Linked DNA regions of Homo sapiens: all the other regions are linked to region 3. Evidence: promoter capture Hi-C in 16 types of primary human blood cells and fetal thymus (Javierre and others, 2016). All regions are on one chromosome and are shown on one strand. The core of a region is centred on a gene start or on the middle of the fragment in contact, and the rest is flanking DNA. Distances in the headings are between cores, read along the strand shown.

What was found. Contacts are between HindIII fragments. The CHiCAGO score rates a contact against its expected background, and 5 or more counts as called.
Region 1: a contact is called between a fragment that was not itself captured here and the fragment with the promoter of ARHGAP17 in region 3, in 1 of 17 cell types (total CD8 T cells). The highest score is 5.9, in total CD8 T cells.
Region 2: a contact is called between a fragment that was not itself captured here and the fragment with the promoter of ARHGAP17 in region 3, in 1 of 17 cell types (activated CD4 T cells). The highest score is 5.2, in activated CD4 T cells.

The regions. Positions count from the first base shown.
Region 1 is chr16:24,529,754-24,533,402 of GRCh38, forward strand. No RefSeq gene overlaps it. Among named protein-coding and RNA genes, the nearest start is that of RBBP6, 8.0 kb to the right of the region's middle. The HindIII fragment of the contact is 607 bases long and covers 1,708-2,314 here.
Region 2 is chr16:24,548,204-24,551,698 of GRCh38, forward strand. RBBP6 (RB binding protein 6, ubiquitin ligase) reads left to right here. Exons shown (of 18, transcript NM_006910.5): 3 at 742-778. Among named protein-coding and RNA genes, the nearest start is that of RBBP6, 10 kb to the left of the region's middle. The HindIII fragment of the contact is 522 bases long and covers 1,685-2,206 here.
Region 3 is chr16:25,013,750-25,017,802 of GRCh38, forward strand. ARHGAP17 (Rho GTPase activating protein 17) reads right to left here and starts at 1,620. Exons shown (of 20, transcript NM_001006634.3): 1 at 1,460-1,620. The coding sequence starts at 1,512. It also overlaps the pseudogene LOC100421171. RefSeq lists enhancers at 508-1,176, 1,177-1,845 and silencers at 1,159-1,208, 1,269-1,318, 1,379-1,428, 1,509-1,758. The HindIII fragment of the contact is 8,408 bases long and covers 1-4,053 here.

The DNA of each region.
Region 1 (3,649 bases), core at 761-3,260, 480 kb before region 3:
GTCTACTAAAAATATAAAAATTAGCTTGGCGTGGTGGTTCATGCATGTAATCCCAGCTACTCAGGAGGCTGAGGCAGAAGAATTGCTTGAACCTGGGAAGCAGAGGTTGCAGTGAGCCAAGATCACGCCACTGCACTCCAGCCTGGGCAACAGAGGGAAATTCCATCTGAAAACAAAACAAAACAAAACAAAACAAAACAAAACAAAACAGGGTCTTGCTCTGTCTCCCAGGCTGGAGCGGAGTGGCAAGATCATAGTTCACTGCAACCTCAACCTCCTGGGCTCAAGTGATCCTCTCACCTTGGCCTCCCAAGTAGCTGGGACTGCAGGTGCACACCACCACGCCCTGCTGATTTTTTAATTTTTGGTAGAAATGGGGGTCTCCCTATGTTGCCGAGGCTGGTCTTGAACTCCTGAGCTCAAGCGATCCTCTCACCTCATCTCCCCAAAGTGCTGGGATGACAGGCTTGAGCCATCATACTTGCTGAACATTCTTTAAAAGGCTGCTGAGAAGGCAAAACAAAAAGCAGTCAACTATAATATTGTAAAAATCTTCTAAAAACTAAAATCATCCCATGTGATTAAACCATCATAAAATATAGTAAAAAAAAAAAAAACAAACTTTTGGTAAATGTTGTAAGTTCAGCTAGTCATTTATCAAACTGGAATGGCTGAAAAATATTTAGAAAAAGGGTCAATAAACTTTTTCTGTAAAGGGCTAAGTAGGAAATATTTCACATTTCATGAACTATTATTCTTCTTTGCTTTTTTTTTTTTAACCCCTTTAAATTTTTAAGAAATGCCGGGAGTGGTGGCTCAATCCCAGCACTTTGGGAGATTGAAGTTGGGAGATTGCTTGAGCCTAGCAGTTCAAGACCAACCTAGGCAATATAGCAAGACTCCTGTTGCTACAAAAAATACAAAAAAAAAAAATTAGCCAGCCATGTTGGCACACAGCTGTAGTCCCAGCTACTAGGGAGGCTAAGACAAGAGAATTGCTTGAGCCGAGTAGTTTGAATTTACAGTGAGCTATGGTTGAACCACTGCACTCTACCCTGGATGACAGAGAGAAACTCTCACAAAAAAAAGCAAAAAACAAAAAAAAACCATTAAACTCGAAAATCGGTGCTATTGGAAGAATAGTACGGGTTACTTTTGGGAGAAATGATTTTCAGTGAATTATTATACTTTATTATTATTATTATTATTTGGGACAGAGTCTCGCTCTGTGGCCCAGGCTGGAGTGCAGTGGCGTGATCTTGGCTCACTGCAACCTCTGCCTCCAGGGTTCAAGCAATTCTCATTCTTCAGACTCCCAAGTAGCTGGAATTACAGGTGTGCACGAGCATGCCTGGCTAATTTTTGTATTTTTAGTAGAAACAGGTTTTGTCATGTTGCCCAGGCTGGACTTGAACTCCTGGCCTCAAGTGATCCACCTGCCTCAGCCTCCCAAAGTGCTGGGATTGCAGGCATGAGCCACCATACCCAGCTGAATTATTATACTTTTAATCCAAAAAACACAGTTGACTATTTGGAGAAAAAAAAATGTTAATCCATGAGAAAACAGAAGACTTATGAAATGACAGGTGCTGAGACATTTGGATATCCATATGTGGAAAGTAAAATGAAACAGAACCCGCAGTTCATGCCATAAACAAAACTGAACTCAGCTAGACAAAAGAATTAAATATGAATGGTAAACTTAAAAGCTTTTAGAATAGACTAAATGCACTGCCTATAAAGGAACATCTTTCAAATTTGACATTATACTTAAACATTTCTATTCATCAAAGTATATCTAAACTAACAACTAAAAAATTAAAAAGGAATGATGGACTTAGAAAAATCACTATTTTGCAACTGCCGTAGTAATCATTGTTCAGGTAGGACTCTTCAATGAATGCTAGACTAATGAGTGAAAAGTTGATGAGGAACAAGGTCTTCAAATAGTCTCAAAGTATCTCCCCACAAATTACTTATTAATTACAAAGGGGTAATATCTGTAGAGTGGATAAAACCAGCAAAACAACCTTATTTAAAAATCAAAAATAGGTTGGGTGTGGTGGCTCATGCCTCATGCAAATGTAATGATCTAATTGCAATTCGTGGTCCAGAATTGGATCAAAGGCCAGAAAAAAAAGAGATAAATTACATTAGTGGGTGGCAAAATTCAAATCTGAACTGTGGATTGGATAATAGTTCTGTATCAATGTTACATCTCTGAATTTTGGTAAATGTAATGTAGTAAATAAATAAGTAATGTAATAAATAAATGTAATGTGTGAGAGAAAATGTCTTTGTTCTCAAAATCCCAAGCTTTGAGAGGCCTAGGCAGGAGGATTGCATGAGTCTAAGAGTTTGAGGTTACAGTGAACTACAATTGTACCAGCCTGGGCAACAAAAGGAGACTCTGTCTCTGAAAAGAAAAAAATAAATAAAAATAACATCATCAATAATAAGTAGCCATCACGGACTCCCTGCTGCAATGATTCCCTGAGTAGGACACATCAATTCTGTGGTTTTTCTGCCAGGTATTCAAACCCTAAATCCAACTATGAGGAAACATTAAACCAAATCAAGAGACATAAATATACATGAATTATCCCGTACTCTTCAAAAATATCAAAAGACTACCGAGTGCAGTGGCTCATGCCTGTAATCCCAACACTGTGGGAGGCTGAAAAGGGAGGATTGCTTGAAGCCAAGGGTTCAAGACCAGTCTGGGCAACACAGCGAGACTCTTTGTCTCTACAAAGAAATTAAAAATTAGCCAGGCGTGGTGGCACATGCCTTAGTCCCAGCTACTCGGGAGGCTAAGGAAGAAGGATCACTTGAGCCAGGGAGTTTGAGGCTGCAGTGGTCATGCCACTGCACTCCAGCCTCAGTGACAGAGCAAGCCCCTGTCTCAGGAAAAAAAAAAAAAAATTCAGAAGACAGAGGCTAACAAAATGTTTCAGACTAAGGGAGATTTGAGAGACATGGCAATTAATTGCAATGTGTGATCCAGGAATGGCTCAAAGACCAGGAAAAAAAAAAGAGATAAATTACATTAGTGGGTGGCAAAATTCGAATCGGAACTGTGGATTGGGTAATAGTTCTGTATCAATGTTACACCTCTGGATTTTGATAAGTGTAATGTGTAAGATAAATGCCTTTGTTCTCAAGAAATATACATGGATTTTTTTAGGGATAAAGAGGCGTCGTGTCTGCAAAATCCTTTCAGAGAGATCCAGATATACCTATATGAAGAAGAGCAGGGGACAAATGGTTAACTAAAAAAAAAAATGGGGCCAGGCACGGTGGCTCACGCCTATAATCCCAACACTTTGGGAGGCCAAGGGGTGGGGGGAGGGCAGATCACTTGAGGTTAGGAGTTTGAGACCAGCCTGGTCAACATGGCAAAATCTCTTTTCTACTAAAAATACAAAAAATTAGCTGGACATGGTGGCTCATACCTGTAGTCCCAGCTGCTTGGAAGGCTGAGACATGAGAAATCGCTTGAACCTGGGAGTCGGAGGTTGCAGTGAACCGAGATGGCGCCTTTGCACTCCAGCCTAGGTGACAGAGTGAGTCTCCGTCTCAAAAACAAACAAAAAAAGGACTGGGACAAGACGGGGCACGGTGGCTCATGGCTGTAAACCCAGCACTT
Region 2 (3,495 bases), core at 696-3,195, 470 kb before region 3:
TTATGTCTTTTAAACATCAAATTGTCCAGTTCTACACAGCCATTTAAGTCAGTTCTTTTAACTAAAATACTCTGATTATATTGTGTTTTTCTGGGAGTGAGAATTTTTGTTCAGTTTTTTTTTTTTTTCTGTTTTTAAGAGATGGGGTCACTATGTTACAGCCCAGGTTAGTCTCAAACTCCTGGGCTCAAGTGATCCTCTCACCTTGGCCTCTTGTTCAATCCTTGATTGTTGTTTTGAGACATTTGAAAAATGAAAATAGCTATCAGCCTGGCCCTCCAGATTTGAAAATTAGTTTTGGGAGCACAGCAATTTCTCAGGGATTCAAATTACAAATGTTAACAACAGCAGTCTTCCTGATGTGTGAAAATTTACGCATTCAGAAACTGGGAAATTATATAATTTAAAATTTTCAGTTTATTAAGAATAAACTACGTTTCTAAACATAAAATCCCTATACTACCTTTCAGAAAACATTTGTTTTAAGTGGCAGGGTACACCTATTTTTGAATTCCCTAGTATGGAATTTTTTTCCAAACCACAAATCTATCTTAAAACTGCTCAAAGGTGGTAAAGATTAATCAGAGTAATTTATTCATTCAGAAATTGGCTGTTAAATATTTATACCAAAGGAAAATTAGGTTCCTAAAAATGTATTATTGAAGATAATGTGTTAAAATTTATTAGCACAAAAATTCATAAATAGCTAATGTTAATTTTTGTTTTTATTTTGTGTTTTAGAAGTCGAACTGAACCAGCGATGGCAACTACAAAAGCAGTATGTAAAAACACAATCTCACACTTTTTCTACACATTGCTTTTACCTTTATAATGTAGCAGTGAAGTAAATCATTTTAGAACTTAATATCCAACTGATCATAGTACATATTGTAAATAAAATGTATTTTGATGACAGCTCAGTTGAATATGGATAATATGTGGCATCACTTGCACACTTATTTTGTAGAAATGGGTAATTTGTGCCCGTAACACTGTTTCATATTAAATATGATAGCATTATCCCTGTATGACACTGTGTTGTACAGTTAATGTATGATCCTTTTTAGATCGTTTAGGTTTTACACTAAGGAACATGATGACATGTTCTACATTTGTCTGTCTATAGTTAGTATTTTGTATGTATGTACAGGCTGTTGTGTGCTTTTTGTTTCTTGCAATAAAAAATGTTTGGAGTGTATATTTTGCCATTTTCACGTTGTATCACTTAGTTTTTGTTAGTTTTTTTTTTCCTGCCTGATTTATGGCTTCCAAAAACGCATTAGCAACATGCAAAGCTTATATTAAAGTTTGATGCTTTCTCCAAGTTCAAACACATCATAGAAAAGAGCTTTCCAGAGACCATTGATGCAGCTTTATTATTTAGTCTTGCTTTATTTGGCATTTTGAGCTCCTTCTTTTGTTTACATCTGTACTATAAAGTGAAACCTGAACCTGGGGCCCCCTATGAATATATAAGTGTCTTAGTGATTTTGAGTTTATATAAACTGATTATATTGTTTTCAAAGTTTAATGAGATCTTCCACTTCTATCTAGTTAGTGCAGATGTCCAAATTAAAATATTTCCCTCTTATACTAAAATGCTGCGTTAATTTTAGGCCATTGAAAGCTGTACCTTATCAGAGGTAACTCCCCTTAACCAGGATAACTGGTTTGAAGAAAGTTAAGCTTAATTTTTGTAATCACAGATTAACTTAATTTGTGATACCATTTTAACTTTGAGCTCTTAAGTAAAAAGTAGCAGCATTCCTAAGTTGTGGGGTGAAGCATCTGTTTCATAACACAGGTCTATCATAATTGGGTTCTGTAAATGTAATGGTTCTCTAAACATTTTAATGCCCAGGCTTGATATTGTACACAATGCAAGATGTCTAAAATCTTCATTTAGAATTCAAGGGTATTGCTTGCTATTTCACATTATATACTTTTTAAATACTATTGCTCTTTGTATATGAGGCATTTCACTAACCTTGGATCATTGGATCTTAAACATGATAATATAGAATATCTGAACATTGGACTTGTTCTTTAGAGTATATGGCCTTTAGTTCTTGTGGAACTAAATACAGTGATTCTAAGATCAAAAGTCTTAGTGTTTGGGGTTTTTTTTTCCTCTTTTTGGATATGGGGTGTTTTTTTTTGTTTTTTTGTTTTTTTTTTTTAAGCATAATGCTGTAAAAACTGTCCAAGCTTATGTTTTGCTGGTGATTGGTTTAAAACTGATTTTTATGTATCCAAATGCTAGCATAAATTAGATTGACTATCCTGGTGACTGTAGTAGTTAATGTAACACATTTTGTATAAAGTACAGTTTATATAGTATTTAAACTAATTCAGATGAAGTTTTATTTCTTGAAAACAGTTATTTCCTTTTTGTTTATTAGCATGTGTATAAACACAAATCACATGTTCATAAATAAAGTTAACATTCTTTTAGCCTTGTGTGTTCCGGCATGTCTGTATTACATTTATAAGAAGCAGTTTATTTAAGCTTATTTAGGTTTCTCTTTTCTTTTCTTTTTTTTTTAATACTTTAAAATTGGCTTTAATTTTTAGGTAGAATTATCTGAAATAGAGATATTAGATAACCTTGTTGTCCCCATCATTTATTTGCTTGGGGTACATTTGCTGGCATTTAAGATGAGAATATATTCATCAAGCATAATTAGTGCCCATCTTAGGAGATTTAGAGTCACGTGGATTGTACACATTCACAAAAGCAAAGTAAATAGAGGCGCTAAGCCAAATTTTTCTTATCCTGATTAGTAAAGTAAATGTATAGTTTTGGTAATGGAAGCGAACTCTAATCAAGAATGGATGGCTGTTTCCATATTCCCCAGTCTTGTTTTTAGTCATCCATCCATGTTGATACCCCAAAGCTGGATGTTCTTCTTGCTAACTAAATATCAGAGTGGTATTTTATAGGATTCTTTAACTTCAAAAAGCTAATATAATTGGCATAAAAGATTTTAGATCCTTGCTTCCCAAAACAAGACCCCTAATTAGGTACAGGGAGGTGGGTTAATTTTAATGTCTACGGTCTGCATCAGTCCGTTTTGTGAGGACTTTAAGTGGCAGACTTTTTTTTACCATTAGTATCTTACCAAGAGTCACTATTTTTATTGATGTTTAGTAATACAAATTCCTAATCATTTTTAAACCATTCTTTGTCAACATTTTTTGCTCATTTCTGAACACCTTGCTATATGTAGGAAACATTTGTTTGCTTTTCTAAATTTGAGGTAAATTTGACTTCTTTGTGGACTATAAGATATTTAGGGGCAATAGTGATTACTTGGTGGTAAAAAGGTGATTTAGGTGCAGTTGCATATCTAAAACCACTTCAAAGTCAATAAATACATAATACTAATAAGTTAGCAGAAAGCTTAAAAGCACACAAAAGCCCAGCATAAAAACAAAAAGGATACTATATCTTAAGTGTTAGGAGTGGGAAGATTTTTTTTTTATTCTTAAGTT
Region 3 (4,053 bases), core at 370-2,869:
GAACAATGTAAAAACAAGCCAAACGACTATTTGACAAATGTATCTTGGCACTTACTAAATACTAGTTCCACAATGCACGTTGCTCAGAACACTAACAAGGGTACGAAACTCACAAGAAATTATCATGTGCTTGTAAACTGTTCCTTGAAACATCAGCCGCCATTACCACACGTCTACCTTCCTCTCAGCATTATTTCTTTAATTTTCCTGCAAATAACAGAAAAGTAGGTTTGTCTGGGCTTTAGGGGCAGCGATTAACCCTGAAAATAAGAGTTAATTCTCACCACAATAATACGGTAGGGAATCGAAAAAATTAAACAAGGAAACTAAGCAAAAAGATGGAGGAAATGAAACAGTAAAAAGCAAATTTAGAAAACTCGAGAGGAAGTAAAAGTATTTTCATACACTCAAAAAAAAGAAGTGTCCCACGTGCTTCAGCCAAACCAAACTCCCCTTAACTGTTAAAAACAGAAAATCAAAAGAAGAGCTGTGAGAAATTCATACTTTCGTATCTCTTTGCTGAATAAACACTAAATCGGTACAGTACAGCCAGCTGCCCTGAAAGACCTTGAAATATTAGCCCCAGATAATACAGCACATGACAGTCACCTCCAGAAACTCTCAAAAACCACAAATCATTTCTTGTTCTGACAACCTGATCTACCAACTCTGGTCTAGCCTGCCATTTAATAATCAATAACGTTTCTTGTTAAGCACTTCAACCGTAGCAAAGGAAGATAAAGAAGCATTTGTTTCCAAACCTAAGGTGAGACTTTTTAAATTGGCGCAAGGCGTCTCCATAATCCTTTTCCGCCAATTCCTAATTTCTAAATGTCAAGAACTGGCAGCAGCAGTCCAGTTCCTAGGAGCCCTGGTTTTGAGACAGCACCACCTCCGAATTCCCTCAAAGGGCGTTCTGAACTCACTGAGCAAATCCGGCTGGCTTTCATGTCCCTCTAGCCATTTCTTGCCGCCATGCACTTACAGGAGAAGGACTCGCAAACAGCGGGAGCACCGGGAAAGCCTGGGACTGCCGCCCCCCACAGCACAGCGCTCGGCACAGCGTTAGGGACAGAAGTCACCGTTGTTGAGCCCAGGGCAGCGATCCCAGCTGGCTCGGCCCCCGGGAAGGGAGGAGAAGGACCGGGTCTACTCCCCGAGGGCGATGCTCCCGGGGCAGGGACAATGGGCAGGGGACCCCGCGGTGTGGCGGAGGAGGCGGCGGCCCTCCCCTGCAGGTCTCGGGAGCCCGGCGGCGCTGAGAGACAGGCGGGCCGCCTGGAGCGCGGCGCTCGGGCCTCAGCGCGGCGCAGCCCCCGGGCCCGTGCCCCGCTGGTCTCGGGCAGGGGCTGCGGCCCAGCTCAGAGCCGCCGGACCGCGGAGGAGCCGTCCCGCCCCCGCGCCCTCCGCCCTCCGCCCCCAGCCCCGGTGCGACCCCCGTGCTGCCCGGCGCACTCGCCTGCCCACGGTCTGGTTAGCCAGCTGCTTCATGCGGTTGAACTGCTTCTTCATGGCGGCGGTGGCGGCGGCGGCCCGCGGGGCTCGGGCCGGGCAGGGCGGGGGACAGCCTGGCAGCTACTACATCGCTTCCCGGCCCAAACGGCGGCGCGGCGGTGGCTCCCCGGGCCGGCGGCCCCGCCCTCGCCTCGTCACTTCCAGTGGCACCGCCCGCCCGCCCTCTAGGTCTGGCCGAGCCGAGCTGAGCCCGAGTAGAGCCGAGTCGAACCGAGCCGAGGCTAACAGTGCCTTACCTGACACGGGCGAAGAGCTAGAAGGCCCCGGGCGAGAAGACCACTAGGCCTCCTCCGCCTGGCCTCCCCGACCCCAACGCTGCCCGGTCACCCTCTCGTTTATTTCAACGTATGAAAAGCTGTTTCTAGCAGGGCGCAGTGGTTCAACGTTGTAATCTCAGCACTTTGGGAGGCCGAGGGGGCAGATCACTTGAGCTCGGGAGTTCGAGAGCAGCCTGGCCAACACGGTGAAATCCTGTCTCTACTAACAATACAAATTTAGCTGGGCGTGGTGGTGGACGCCTGTAATCCCAGCTACTCAGGAGGCTGAAGCAGGAGAACGGCTTTTACCCGAAAGGCAGAGGTTGCAGTGAGCCGAGATGGCGCCACTGCACTCCAGCCTGGGCAACAGAGTGAGAGACCCTGTCTCGAAAAAAAAAAAAAAAAAAAAAATTAAAGTCAATGTGTGTTTTCCTTAACACACGTGCTCACACACTCATGTCTTCCTGGTTTGGTGGCCTTGGCTCCAGGTAAGCCCCTTCTTTGCATTGGATGGGCAGCAATGTGGCTTCTTTCATCAGCCACATCTCAAATGTGCTCCTAAATGTCATAGAAAAAGGAAAGAGCTCCCTAACTATGGGATAAAGGAGACTGATGCCAGTTTGGAATTCTTAATATCAAAGAATGAGGGACTTCAAGATCTTTTTAGTGACCTAGGAGAGACCTAGGAAGCATCAGAGCTTCAGATAGGGCAGCAAACTAAAAGTTATCGACATCAATTACAACAGAAAGAGGTAGAAATGAGCCTTCCTAAAACAAGAAAGCAAGCACTACAGGATCGGTTGCAGGACCGGCAGCCAGCCCTGGAGTCAGCACATTCAGGGAAGGCCGGAGGTTCCCATCCACACTGCATCCCCTCCATTCCATGTGGTACCCATCATGCTTCAGTGTTCCACGACGCTTACATGGGTTTTTATGACATAATTTCATCATAACAAGAAATAAACAGATAGTCCAATGAAGTTCTAAAACTTGAGTCTCCAGTTGGCCATTGGAAATGTATTGCTCAGACTTATAAAATAGGAGGAACAACTAGTTTTGATGAAAATGAAATCTACAAACTACAAACACCAAATATTAATATCATCAAGGAGCTCAAACAAAAAAGAAGTCAGGATACTGATGACCATCAGCTTGAATTATCAGTATTACAGAATGTTCATCAACAGAAATTGAGGGAAATAAGTTGTAAGCATCAAGAAAATCTAAGCAATTAGGAAGAAAAGATTGAAGAACTGGAAAATTTGTTACAGCAAGGTGGCTCAGGAATTACAGTACATGATCTCTCTAAACTTCAAGAGAAGGAAAACACTATTCATGCAAGCTCTACAAATTGAAAAAGTAGAGTCTACCAAAAAATTGAAGAATTTGAACATAGAGTAAAAGACAAATAAAAAATTATCTTCTGGGGCCAGGTGCAGTGGCTCACACCTGTAATCCTAGCACTTTGGGAGGTCAAGATGGGAAGATCACTTGAGCTCAGGAGTATGAGACTAGCCTGGACAACATACTAAAACCTCATCTCTATGAAAAATTTAAAAAAAAAAAAAAGGCCAGAAGCAGTGGCATGCACCTGTACTCCCAACTAGTTGAAAGGCTGAGGCAACAGGATCATTTGAGCCCAGGAATTTGAGGCTGCAGTGAGCTATTATCACACCATTGCACTCTTGTCTGGGTGACAGAGTGAGACCCCTAGCTGAAAAGAGGCTATTGGAAGAAACAACTCTGAGAAAACCATGAAAAGATTGTCCACTGAAGCTAACCTGGAGAGCTCTGCCTTACAGCTAGAGCAAGAGTGTGTAATTAAACTCAGCCACGAGAAAGACTCTGAAATGTCAGCACTCAAAAAGAATATTGAGGCTGGGTGCAATGCATCACACCTGTAATCCCAGCACTTTGGGAGGTCGAGGTAGGTGGATCACCTGAGGTCAGGAGTTCAAGACCAGCCTGGCCAACATGGTGAAACCCAGTCTCTACTAAAAATACAAAAATTAGTCAGGCGTGGTGGCGGGCGCCTGTAATCCCAGCTGCTGGGGAAGCTGAGACGAGACAATCGCTTGAACCTTGGAGGCAGAGGTTGCAGTGAGCTGAGATCTGGCCTCTGCAGGGTGGTCCAGCCTAGGTGACAGGGTGGTCCAGTCAAGGTGACAGAGACAACGTGACAAGGTTACTGTCTCAAAAAAAAAAAAAGAATATTAAACAGATGGACACTGACCATAAAGAAACTAAAGAAAAAGTGCTCCTAAATTTACTCCAAGAGATT